Linked DNA regions of Homo sapiens: region 1 is linked to region 2. Evidence: promoter capture Hi-C in 16 types of primary human blood cells and fetal thymus (Javierre and others, 2016). All regions are on one chromosome and are shown on one strand. Each heading gives the region's core, a stretch centred on a gene start or on the middle of the fragment in contact. The rest is flanking DNA. Distances are from core to core; before and after follow the strand shown.

Region 1 (6,421 bases), core at 155-2,654, 600 kb after region 2:
CACACACGTTCCCTCTTCTCTCCTGTCTGTTTTCTCTACCTTTGCTGCACCCTTTTGTGGTCTAGTCCCTACTTGGCCTTTGGATCTCAGATGAGGTGATGTCATTTCCTTTGAGAATTGACCCCACTCCAAGCTGAGCAAGTGCCCCTCCCAGTATTTCTCCATTTCCACCTCTAGACTGAGTTCCCTGAAGGCAGGGACCACATGTGTCTTTTTCACTGTAACACTGCCAGCAGCTTACACAGTGCCGAATACAAAGTAGGATCGCCAAAATATTTCTTTGAATGAAGGAAAGAACAAACCAGCTTTGCAAGCAGCCATGTCTTCCCACAGAAAGGCTCTTCCTACCACTGCCAGAGTCCCTGGACTAGACAGAGGGCACATCTAAACAAAACCATCTCCTTCTGCTGGGAATGCAGTCACAGTTGTATGGACCCAGCATTCAGGCTCTTCTACCCAAAATGCAATCCACTGCTGACGAAGAGGCTGCCTGCCAGCCATCACTTCAGATGCCTACTAGAGTCAGGCAGCGCAGAGAGCCCAGACTGGTGAGCGGGCGCTGGCTGCAAAGACAAGTTTCTCCAAGCATGTCCCATGTCTCTTGAGAGATGCAGCTGTGTAATGAAAGCAGTATGCTTGGCTTGCTCATTTATTAACATTTCATCATCTTTTCTATTTGTTCCTTCTTTTTTTTTGAAATGGAGTCTCGCTCTTGTCACCCAGGCTGGAGTGCAGTGGTGTGATCTCCGCTCACTGCAGCCTCCGCCTCCCGGGTTCAAGCAATTCTCCTACCTCAGCCTCCCAAGTACCTGGGACAATAGGCACATGCCACCATGCCCGGCTAATTTTTGTATTTTTTGTAGAGATGAGGTTTTGCCATGTTGCCCAAGCTGGTCTCCAACTCCTGACCTTAGGTGATCCGCCCACCTCGGCCTCCCAAAGTGCTGGGATTACAGGCATGAGCCACGGCGCCTGGCCATATATTTGTTCCTTCTTTCATCCAACAAATATTCTTTGAGTGCCTATCATGTATCTAAATGGATCTTACATCCAATCAAGGGAGACAGACAAATGAATTTTTTTTTTTTTTGAGACGGAGTCTTGCTCAGTGGCGCTGTCTCGGCTCACTGCAACCTCCGCCTCCCGGGTTCACCCTATTCTCCTGCCTCAGCCTCCCGAGGAGCTGGGACTACAGGCACCCGCCACCACACCCGGCTAATTTTTTGTATTTTTAGTAGAGACGGGGTTTCACCGTGTTAGCCAGGATGGTCCTGATCTCCTGACCTCGTGATCCACCTGCCTCGGCTCCCAAAGTGCTGGGATTACAGGCGTGAGCCACCGCGCCCGGCCAAACAAATGTTTTTTAAAAAAATTATCAGGAAAAGCCTCCCGGAGAAGGGTGCATCTGAGCAGAGACTTGAGTAATAGGAAGGAGCTGGCAAAGTGAATGTCAGAGGAAGCGTGTCCAGGCAGAGCACACAGCAAGTGCAAAGGCCCTGAGGTAGAGCATGTGTGGAGGAGCAAGGAGGGCAGTGTGGCTGGGGCAGAGCGAGGAAAGGGAGAATGGAGAGGCAACGTCTAAAGATAGGGGACCACATGGCTTTGCTGGGACTCCTCGTAGAAACTGGGGACTTTGTCAAGACTTTGACTTTTACTCTGGGGGAGATGGTACTGAGCCAGAGAGAGCTTGGATTTGTGTTTTAAGGGATACTCTAAGTGCTGGTTGGAAAAGAGTTGGTTGGGGGTTAAGACTAGAAGTTGGTAGACCAGTTGGCAGCCCAGGAAGCCCTGCTGGATGAGAGGCGGCAGGGGCTGGACTGGGTGTTGGCACTGGAGATGGTGAGGAGTGGTCAATTCCTAGATACGTCTCAAAGCACAAGGACAACGCTTGCTGAGGGACTGGACACAGGATGAGGAGTAGGGAGGAAGCCTGCCCGATCCCCCGCACCTGAGCAAATGCGGTACCAGTTACTGAGATAGGGAAGATGGAGAAGAACAGATCTGGGTTGAATAGGTGGGGAGGCGTCAGGTGTTCTCTTTTAGACATGTTAAATTTGAGAATGCTGGCCAGGCGCGGTGGCTCACACCTGTAATCCCAGCACTTTGGGAGACCGAGGCAGGCAGATCACCTGAGGTGGGGAGTTCGAGTCCAGCCTGACTAACATGGAGAAACCCCGTTTCTACTAAAAATACAAAATTAGCCAGGCGTGGTGGTGCATGCCTGTAATCTCAGCTACTCGGGAGGCTGAGGCAGGAGAATCGCTTGACGAGACTCCGTCTCAAAAAAAAGAAAAAAAATCATCAGTGAGGGTGGACGAAGAGGACTGGAGGTTCCCCTCCTCCATAGCAGCTTTTGTTTTTGTTGTTGTTGTTTTGTTTTTTTGACATGGAATCTCACTCTGTGGCCCAGGCTAGAGTGCAGTGGCTCGATCTCAGCTCACTGCAACCTCTGCCTCCCAGGTTCAAGTGATTCTCTTGCCTCAGCCTCCCAAGTAGCTGGGATTATAGGCACCTGCCATCACGCCTGGCTAATTTTTGTATTTTTAGTAGAGATGGGGTTTCACCATGTTGGCCAGGCTAGTCTTGAACTCCTGACCTCAGGTGATTCTCCTACCTCGGCCTCCCAAAGTGCTGGGATTACAGGCGTAAGCCACCGCGCCCGGCCCATAGCAACCTTTGAACACCCAACCTCTTGCATCCCACCCATACCATTCAAAGCCCATTTCAAATGGCACTTCCTCCATGAGCTTTCTGTGACTGCTCAGCTTGATATACTCTTTCAAATCTCTAAATTCCACTTTGCTTTATCTGTGCCTCCCTTTTGGCCCATCTCACATGCTGGTCTTTGTCACAGTTACCAATTTACTCTTTGTCAGAGCCTGGACTGTAGCCTCCTTGAGAACAGGGATGGCTCTAATCCTCTCCGAGTCCCCAACTGTGCAGAGCTCAGCCCCAGGTATTTAGCAGGTCCTCCACAGGTGCACTGCACCATGGTAGGGCTTTGTACCTGGGCTGTTGTAGCAGAGGCAGCCAGCATCAGTGCAGGCAGGAATCCACCCAGGGATGGGGAACGAGGGCAAGGACTGCCTCACGAAGCCCAAGAGTCATCAGGGGAGCTGCTCAACTACTGAACCTCTGGAGTCTGGATTCCATAAGTCCCATATACCTAGTCAAACACAGGACTTGTGATCTTTCTTGATTCAAATACTGGTAAGCTTTCCTGGTCTTGCAGGGATAGGGAATCAAAAGCATTGAAATCAAGGGCTCCCAAAATAAAGATTTCCCTCAACAGGTATTCCATTTCAGACTCCAATAATCTTGTTTGCAGCACATTCATTTGTATTGTGGGCCAACTGTGAAATATCTCACTTTTCAAATATCTCGAAGTGATTTGTCCCACTTTTCTTACGGTCTCCTCATTATATCTTAGCTAACAATATCAAAGTTCAACATATAAAGTAATAAAAGAACATTTCTGGCCAGGCACGGTGGCTCATGCCTGTAATGTCAGCACTTTGGGAGGCCGAGGTGGGTGGATCACAACGTCAGGAGTTCAAGACCAGCCTGGCCAACATAGTGAAACCCTGTCTCTAGTAAAAATACAAAAATTAGCTGGGCATGGTGGCATGCGCCTGTAATCCCAGCTACTTGGGAGGCTGAGGCAGGAGAATCGCTTGAACTCAGGAGACAGAGGTTGTGGTGAGCCGAGATCATGCCACGGCACTCCAGCCTGGGCAACCGAGCAAGACTCTCTCCAACACACACACACACACACACACACACACACACACACACAGAACATTTCTGCGATTGATCTGTGATTGATCCTCTGACGACATGTCCAAATAAGAAAGGACTTTCTGCAGAGACAAATCTTCTGTCCCTCGGACCCTGGGAATATGAAAATACCCAGTCCTTACCTGGGAGGCTTGTCGCATTTGCAGAATCTCTGAAGAGAATATTATCATCGTCTTTATTAGTAGTAAGTGCCTAAAAGAGACATTCCTCACCATCAGCCTGTTTCTGCAGATTGCACCATCATTCAGAACCAGTTCAGGAGTTACCTCCTCCTCAGAGCCCTCCCTGATCCACCCAAAGCATTCCTTTCTCCATTTCATTCATAACAGTGGAAAAATCAATAATACTATTATTTGCATTTTTTCTATCCACACCATGCCTGCTAAAGGTGGGGCTTTCTTTCCACCTGCCTCTCCACCAAAAGCTTAAAGCTGCACAGAGAAGATGCTCAGTGGATACACTGAAGCAGCTGTTGTCCTTACAGGTCCGATGCAAGGATGCAGGTACTACCATGACTGGAATGCTGGTTCCACCACTTACGAGCTATGTCACCTTGGACAGACTTCTTTTTTTTTGTTTGTTTTTTTGTGAAATGGAGTTTCACTCTTGTTGCCCAAGCTGGAGTGCAATGGCATGATCTCGGCTCACTGCAACCTCCGCCTCCCAGGTTCAAGCGATTCTCCTGCCTCAGCCTATCAAATAGCTGGGATTACAGGCATGCGCCACCACACCCAGCTAATTTTGTATTTCAGTAGAGAAAGGGTTTCTCCATGTTGGTCAGGATGGTCTTGAACTCCTGACCTCAGGTGATCTGCCTGCCTCAGCCTCCCAAAGTGCTGGGATTACAGGTGTGAGCCCCTGTGCCCGGCCCTGGCCTCAGACTTAACTCACGTTAAGAAGCCCTACAAGGCCGGGCGCGGTGGCTCACGCGTGTAATCCCAGCACTTTGGGAGGCCGAGGCGGGTGGATCATGAGGTCAGGAGATCGAGACCATCCTGGCTAACAAGGTGAAACCCCGTCTCTACTAAAAATACAAAAAAAATTAGCCAGGCGCGGTCGCGGGCGCCTGTAGTCCCAGCTACTCGGGAGGCTGAGGCAGGAGAATGGCGTGAACCCGGGAAACGGAGCTTGCAGTGAGCCAAGATTGCGCCACTGCAGTCCGCAGTCCCACCTGGGCGACAGAGCGAGACTCCGTCTCAAAAAAAAAAAAAAAAAAAAAAAAAAAAAGCCCTTACAAGCACTCCCTTGCAATGTTAACATAAGGAGCCAATGAAACAGCAAATGCAAGGCTCACAGTTTAGCAGGATGTGGCCAGTCCTCAGTCGGTGTCAGTTTCCCCAGAACCCGTGTTGGGAGCACTCTAGCCCCATGGGTATGGGCTTCACCTGCAGCTGTTCCTACATGGAACACAGATAAGGTTCAAGAGCCCCAGGCTCCTTCCCTGTGCCGCACAGCTCCAGAAGTGGCTATGACTCCCAGCTTAGCATTTAGGGAATTAAGGGCCACAGGAGGAGATATAGTTGGATAGGAAATTGGATTACTCAAGGAATTTGTTAAGCAGCTTCAGAGGTAATCCTCTTTCCAGCAAATTATGTCACCAAGAGTCCACAGGGGAAGGATGCAGATAAACAGAATCCAATCTCAAGCTAAGCCATTAGCGTTGTCCAAAAAGCTCAGAGATGAAATAGCAGCTGCTAGACGCAGAGCAGTTCTGCACGCCAGGCCAGCGCTGCTCCACTCCTTACAGTCCTGGGACAAGATAATTTCTATGATTCCCTTTCACAGAGGTTTGAAAAGCACAGGTAACTCACCACGACCACATTTCTACTAGTGACAGAACTGGATTTAAACCAAATTCGGTCTGGCATCAGCCCACACTCCTAAACACGAGGTGCTGCAGCCCTGACCCTTTTACAAGAACAGGAGCTCACCTGCATGGGGGTGGACACCTCGTTCTCAGCTGGAGGACTCCTGGATTCTGCGGACAGAAGAAAGGCTCATTATTAGTGATTCATGGGCCCTGGAGTCCTGTCTCAGGGGCTTCAGCATCAGAAAAAAAAAGTTCATCTCAATGTTATTTAAAAGAACAGCATGGGCTGGGCGCGGTGGCTCACGTCTGTCATCCCAGCACTTTGGGAGGATGGGTAGATCACCTGAGGTTAGGAGTTCGAGACCACCCTGACCAACATGGAGAAACCCTGTCTCTACTAAAAATACAAAATTAGCTGGGTGTGCTGGCACATGCCTGTAATCCCAGCTACTCGGGAGGCTGAGGCAGGAGAATCGTTTGAACCCGGGAGGCGGAGGTTGCAGTGAGCCGAGATCATGCCATTGCACTCCAGCATGGGCAATAAGAGCAAAACTCCGTCTCAAAAACAAAACAAAACAAAACAAAACAAAACAAAACAAAACAAAAAACAGCATGCTGGAAATAACCAAATATCCAACCGTAAGGGACTAGCTGTAGAAATTATGACATAACTACATAATGCAGAAACTTTTAAAATTTATTTTATATATATATATGTATGTGTATATATATATATGTGTATGTGTATATATATGTATGTGTATATATATGTATGTGTGTATATATATATGTGTGTGTGTGTGTGTGTGTGTG
Region 2 (6,030 bases), core at 6-2,505:
CCCTTAGGTACCTGAGGGGCTTCCACATTGCATGCTGAGACTTAAAGAAGAATACTGGAAGGAGAGGGTGTCTCTCTAATTTATGGCTTTCCACCCACCAACCCATTCACAAGTCCCCAAGAAAGACTTTCGGCTTGCGCAGCCTGTGGCCCTCCTTGTCCCCTTCCGGCCAATCCCAGGTTCTCACAGGACCCTCCCCGGTTCCCACTCCCTCCCAATCACTCTCCCCCCACTTCAGGAACGCCCCCTCTCGAGACTGAGCTAAGCCTTGTGGCCGGGTGCCCGCTCACCCTCCCCTTCGCTCACATCGGAGATGCCAGGAACGCCCATTTCTGGGTGAGCAGTGCAAACACCCCCACCTCCCTAAACACCCTCATGCCCAGTCAGGCACACCCGCTGCCTACAGCCTCTGCTTCCTCCTCGAGCACCCCCCACCCCCCCAACACACAATGGCCCTCTCTCCTCCGGACACTCCACCCGCGCCTGCCCTCTCGGTCCCGGCCCAAGACAGCAGCGGGAAGTGAAAGTTCCAAGGAGGAGTTGGTGTCCCAGCCTCTTTCCTGGCCAATTCTCCCTTCTCCTGGCTCATCTCGGGCCCCTCCCGCTCGGCCAGGCACTGGTGGCAACAGCACCAGGGTGAGGAGTGCCTGGCGGCCCCAGGCCTGGAATAGAGGCTAGAGAGAATCCTCTTCACTAAACCCTACAAGCCATGCCCGCTCAGCGCCCTGGCACCGGGTCGAACGGTTAGCTAGGCCCCAGAGCAGCGAAGATGCCAGTCCTGGGGAGCAGCGACCCTCTCATCACGATCTTGAAGTGGCGCTGGACAGGCCCCTCGGTACCTGGTACCTGAGCCTGAAAGTGTCCGCAGGGACCGCGCAGAGGATGACCAGGCAGGAGGCAGGGGGCGCCGGCATCCCCCCTCCTTCTCTTTTCACCCCATCGCCAAGTCACCGGGCCCTAGGCCCAGGACAGCGGACCAGGGCGGGCCGCGCTCTGGCTGGGCTCTCCCAGGGTCTCCGTCCGGCCCCATTACCCTAATGCCTTCCGACTTTCCTGCACCTCCCTCCCAGTCCGCCCCCCGACCCACTCCAGGCGGAGGACTCACCTATATTTGGGAGCGGCCAGGAAGGCAGAGGGCTGCCCGCGCCCAGGAGCCCCAGGGCCCAGAGCAGCGCCAGCCGCATGGCAGCGGCGCTCCGGGCCGGGCGAGGGCAGCAAGTGCGGAACAGCGCGCGGAGGAGCGGCCGGCGGCCAGGTCGCCTCGGAGAACCCAGCAGCGCCGCGCGGCCACCAGGCCCCGCCCCGGCCCGCCCCCTCCCACCCGGCCCCAAGCCAAGCTCCGCCCCCGGCAAAGCCCGCCCCGCTGCGCGCCGGGTGCCTCGGGAGCGGGGACACCGCCCACTACGCCCGCGCTGCTCAGCGCTACCGCTTCCCCGCAACTGTGCGGAGTGGGAGCCGGTGCCCGGTCCGACCGGCTTGGGCGGCGCGCCTTCACCCGGCGCCAGGTCCGGACCCCTCCCTAGTAGCTTCGCGGCCTCCCTGCCTCCTGTGCGCGGCCTGGCTCGGAGAGGTCGGGCGGGCAGGCTTTCCCGACTGCAGGCGAGGCAGTGCGCGGCTCACCCCAGTCCCCGACCCACGTGAAGCGTACAGGGCATTTTATTAACCGGGAAGGACGGTGCGGAAGAGCGAGCAGGACGCCTCTTCACCCCGCGTAGGCAGTGTCGTCGTTGCTGTCACTAAAGGCGGAGGAAGAGAGCTCTTCGCGGGGCGTGCAGACCGGGCACCGCTGCCGCATGTCGTCCCAGCACGACCAGCAGTACACGGCCTCGCAGTCCAGCGTCCGGCACACGTAGGACTCGGGCGTCTCGGGTGCCTGGCACACCACGCAGCGCCGGCACAGCCAGCGGCGCAGGAGCGGGCAGCCGCGGTGCAGGATATCCGCCAGCGGGTGGCGCTGTTGGGAGGTGGGCGTTAGCGCCAGCCCGGGAGCGAGGCGGGAAAGAAGGGGAACTGGACAGCGTTTCCTGTCTGAAGTCGCCAGGCCTGACAATTCCCGCGTGTTGGAGGAGGCTGGGTTGGACAAAGGAAACCCCTGGAGGGCGAGGGTGCCTCCCTCCCCAACTCTGTGATGGAGAATGGGAGGATGCACCCTCCAGGCTCTCTCCAAGCGGATATCAGCCACAACTCTCATTTGCACTTTCCTGTAAATCATCTTATTTGGTTCTCACAGTGAGGCTGAGAAGTGAGCAGGCCAGATCGACTATCACTGTTGCTATCCCCACTTTACAGTTGAGAAAGGTGAAGTGACTCTCAAAGTCACACAGATAGTAAACAATCCAACTTGGCTGGACCCCAGGGGCCCTGATTCCAAACCACAAACCTAGTTCACTATGCTCCCTGCCATCCCTCACGACATGTCTCTACACAGTTGTCAGGGATTTTCCACAGGCCACCTTACCCAGGAAGCAGCCACTCTTTGCCCAAGAAACTCCAGAGGCCCTGCTGCCTGCCAGACAGGCAGAACTCTTGGGCTTGGCCTTCAGAGCCTTCCCTCACCTGGTCCCTTTCTAGCCTCTTTCCTACTTTAGCCCTCCCTGAGAGCTGTCTCTTCTGAGCCAGTTTCTCCTGAGACTAGCCCTGGCACTTCGCATTCCCTGTGGACTGAGTCTTTGCACATTCTGCTTGGAATGACTGTCTGGCACATTTCCATCTGTGCATTCACATTCAGTTTGCTTCACGACCCTGTCAAGGAATCCCAGCATGTTCTTTTTTGTTTTTTGTTTTTCATTTTTTCACAACACATTCATTTGGCCCCTATTGTGTGTCATGGGGGCTGGGGGTATCCAGGCCCTAGGGAAAAAGCTAAGCAAACACAGTCTCACTTTTATGAACTTTGTTAGGACTGATTAAATAAGAATGGCTGCCACTCATTGTTTATAATGTCAGGTCCTGTACTAAGATACTGTACATAAATTATTTCAATTCTAAATTAGCCGGGCGTGGTAGTGTGTGCCTGTAATCCCAGCTACTCGGGAAGCTGAGGCACGAGAATCGCTTGAACTGGGGAGGTGGAGGTTGCAGTGAGCCAAGATCACGCCACTGCACTCCAGCCTGGGCGACAGAGTGAGACTTAGTCTCAAAAAAAAAAAAAAATTCAATTCAATTGTCATGTAAGGCAGATAGTGTTATTATCATCTCCTTTTTTTCAGGTGAGAAAACTGATGCTTGGAGATGTGATCACTGCCCAGGGTCACCCAATGATAACATGCATGCATATGGAACTTGCTGCATGCCAGCACCATGTAAGTACAACTCATTTAATCCTTAAAACAACCAGATGGAGTAGTTAACCCCATTTTATGGAAGGCAAAAGCCCAGGCACAGCAGTTAAGTCATGTGCTCAAGGTCACACCGTTGTCATAGTAATGAGGGAAGGAGCCGGGATACACACTTAGGCCCTCTGGCACCGGAGTCCCACACCTGACCACCACTCTAGGCTGATCTCCAGTGAGCAGGCCTTACAGATCTCTCCAGTCTTGCCATTCTTCAGAGGGAGAAACTGAGGCTCAGTGAAGACCTTGGCCAAGGTGACACAACTTAATGAGGGAGTATGGACTGGAGTCTGCTTCCTCAGATTCCATGTGCCTTACCATGTGCCCCTGCATGAGGCCTTCCTGACTCCCAGCCCACCTGCCTCCTCCTGTCCCTTGAACTGCACTGAGCTTCTGGTCTGCAGCCCTCTGGTAGAAACTTTGGTTTTGCCTTGGGCCTCCTGTTTCTGTGCGGCCCTCTTGCTTTTCTATGAGCAGACTGTATTAAATCTCATTCTCCTTTTCTGCCTGCTTCCTAATGGTCCACTGAGTGTCTTAGGCTGGGCTGAATCCTGGGATTCAGAAACGGGCACAGCCCTGACCTTAGGAGCTGGATGGCTGGGGCCCTCAGCATGTGTTGCATCAGATTACACCGGGCTTGGCTGGGCTTGGTGGCTCACGCCTGTAATCCTAGGACTTTGGAAGGCTGAGGTGGGCAGATCACCTGAGGTCAGGAGTTTGAGACCAGCCTGGCCAACATGGTGAAACCCTGTCTCTACTAAAAATACAAAAAAATAGCTGGGCGTGATGGCGTGTGCCTGTAATCCTGGCTACTTGTGGAGTGGGGGGCTGAGATAGGATAATCGCTTGAACCTGGGAGGCAGAGGTTGCAGTGAGCCGAGATCGTGCCACTGCACTCCAGCCTGGGCGACACAGTGAGATTCCATCTCAAAAAATAAAAAGAACTTACCAGGCTCGAGTAGGCCTGCGACCATTGGTGGGTGCTGGGTGGACTGAAGGGAGCTGCCCCTTGCCTGCTGTACTTAGACCCAGCCAGGAGCTGGCAGCAGCACTTACGCCTGGACTTACCGGAGCCTTCTGCTGTCGCTCCCGCCTCAGGATAGCGGCCCTCCTGAGTTTGGTGAAGGCTGCTCTTTTCTTCAATAGGTCATTGTAGAGGAACAGGATCCGCTTCTTCTCTCGCTGGGGGCAGGAAGGGGGTCAATGATAGAGAAAGGCATCCCCCAAATATGGAGTTGGTAGGGAGCTGGGTGGTGTGTGTGTGTGTGTGCAGGTGTGTAGGGGTGGAGAGGTCTGGGGAGGGGCAAACCTTGGGGAAGTAGAAGGCTGCGATGACCCTCCGGAGTCGGTAGCCAAAAGCCTGTAACAGGCAGAGACACACTAACAGGCCAATCGGTACTGCAGCTCTCCAGTAGGCCCTGGCATCCAGGCCCACAGGCTGGGGCAGGCAGGCTAGGGGAGGGGCAGGCCAGGGGTCTGGTCAGGACCAGCCAAGGGGCAGGGCAGCCCTGGGTTGGACTTCCCATCCCAGTGGGAGGTGCAGTCCTCTGATTCCCCTGCTCTCCTCCTGCCTGCCCCTCACTGCAGAACTGCCCTGTCAGTACTGTAGCCGCTGGGCCCAATGTGGCACAGATCTTGCAGATTTCTATCTTGACTGAATGTCCTGTTGGACAGTGCTGCTCTGGAGGGCTGGGGCCCCCTAGCCACAAGACCCTGGCCTCCAGACTCCTCTGACTGAAGCTGGTCATGCTCCCCTTTTTCAAGCCTGCCCAGATGTGTTCCCTGCTCCGATTTCCCCAGCTCAAGCGCTCCAACCCCCATCTCTCCACACCCAAGGCCCAGGCCCCTAACTCTTTACCTTGGAGTCTTTTGACCCTTGCCCCACCGCCCTCGATTCCTCTGATCCAAACTTTCAGCATCACTCACGCATGTTGTTTGATTCCATCACTGTCTCTGAGGAGGTGTTCAGGGCCCCAATGGTTTTTCGAAGAAGCCGGGCTAGCATGGAGTCTCCCCCGACCTTCACCTCCAGTTTATGACTGCCTGCGGCCAGGAGGACAGGTAGGGAAGTCAGGGCAGGTGGAGAAATCAGGAATGTGTTAAGGGGGTGGATGTCAGGGAGGGGTCAAGACACAGAAATGCTTCTCAGCTGCCTGAGTCTTTCTGTCCCTTCCTGAATCCTAACCCCTCCCTGCTCCCAGTTGTAAGTGTAAAGGGGTACAGAGCCCCCCTCCCCTGCTGTGAGAGCTGTCAGGTTGCAGGGCTGTCATTTGACCTTGAGGAGGACAGGGAGGGGCTGAATCACAGAAAGGGGAAAAGAACAGGCAGAAGGATGGCTGGCACAGTGGCACACACCTGTAATCCCAGCACTTTGGGTGGCCGAGGCAGGTGGATCACTTGAGGTCAGGAGTTCGAGACCAGCCTGACCAACATGGTGAAACTCTGTCTCTACTAAAAATAGAAAAATTAGCTGGCCGTGGTGGCTCACACCTGTAATCTCAGCTACTCAAGAGGCTGAGGCAGGAGAACTGCTTGAACCTGGGAGGTGGAGGTTGCAGTGAGCTGAGATTGTGCCAATGCACTCCTCCAGCCTGGGTGACAGAGCGAGACTCTTTGTCTCAAAAAAAAAAAAAAAAAAGAGGCAGAAGGACGAGGCACAGTTGGAAGAACTAGGGTGGGGTGGCTGTGCAGGCATTGG

Evidence for each region. The method cuts DNA at HindIII sites, captures the fragments that hold promoters and counts their contacts. A CHiCAGO score of 5 or more calls a contact.
Region 1: a contact is called between a fragment that was not itself captured here and the fragment with the promoter of ADAM15 in region 2, in 1 of 17 cell types (neutrophils). The highest score is 5.3, in neutrophils.

Annotation. Positions count from the first base shown.
Region 1 is chr1:154,447,480-154,453,900 of GRCh38, reverse strand. It overlaps IL6R (interleukin 6 receptor), which reads right to left. Exons shown (of 10, transcript NM_000565.4): 7 at 5,730-5,776; 8 at 3,921-3,990. Among named protein-coding and RNA genes, the nearest start is that of IL6R-AS1, 44 kb to the right of the region's middle. The HindIII fragment of the contact is 3,626 bases long and covers 1-3,217 here.
Region 2 is chr1:155,046,541-155,052,570 of GRCh38, reverse strand. It overlaps ADAM15 (ADAM metallopeptidase domain 15), which reads right to left and starts at 1,255. Exons shown (of 23, transcript NM_207197.3): 1 at 1,106-1,255. The coding sequence starts at 1,184. It overlaps DCST1 (DC-STAMP domain containing 1), which reads right to left. Exons shown (of 17, transcript NM_152494.4): 14 at 5,259-5,375; 15 at 4,642-4,784; 16 at 4,401-4,514; 17 at 1,641-1,954. The coding sequence ends at 1,703. DCST1-AS1 (DCST1 antisense RNA 1) reads left to right here. Exons shown (of 4, transcript NR_040773.1): 2 at 3,210-3,302. ADAM15-EFNA4 (ADAM15-EFNA4 readthrough) reads right to left here and starts at 1,255. Exons shown (of 26, transcript NR_176418.1): 1 at 1,106-1,255. RefSeq lists a silencer at 1,091-1,550 and an enhancer at 2,021-2,080. The HindIII fragment of the contact is 11,546 bases long and covers 1-6,030 here.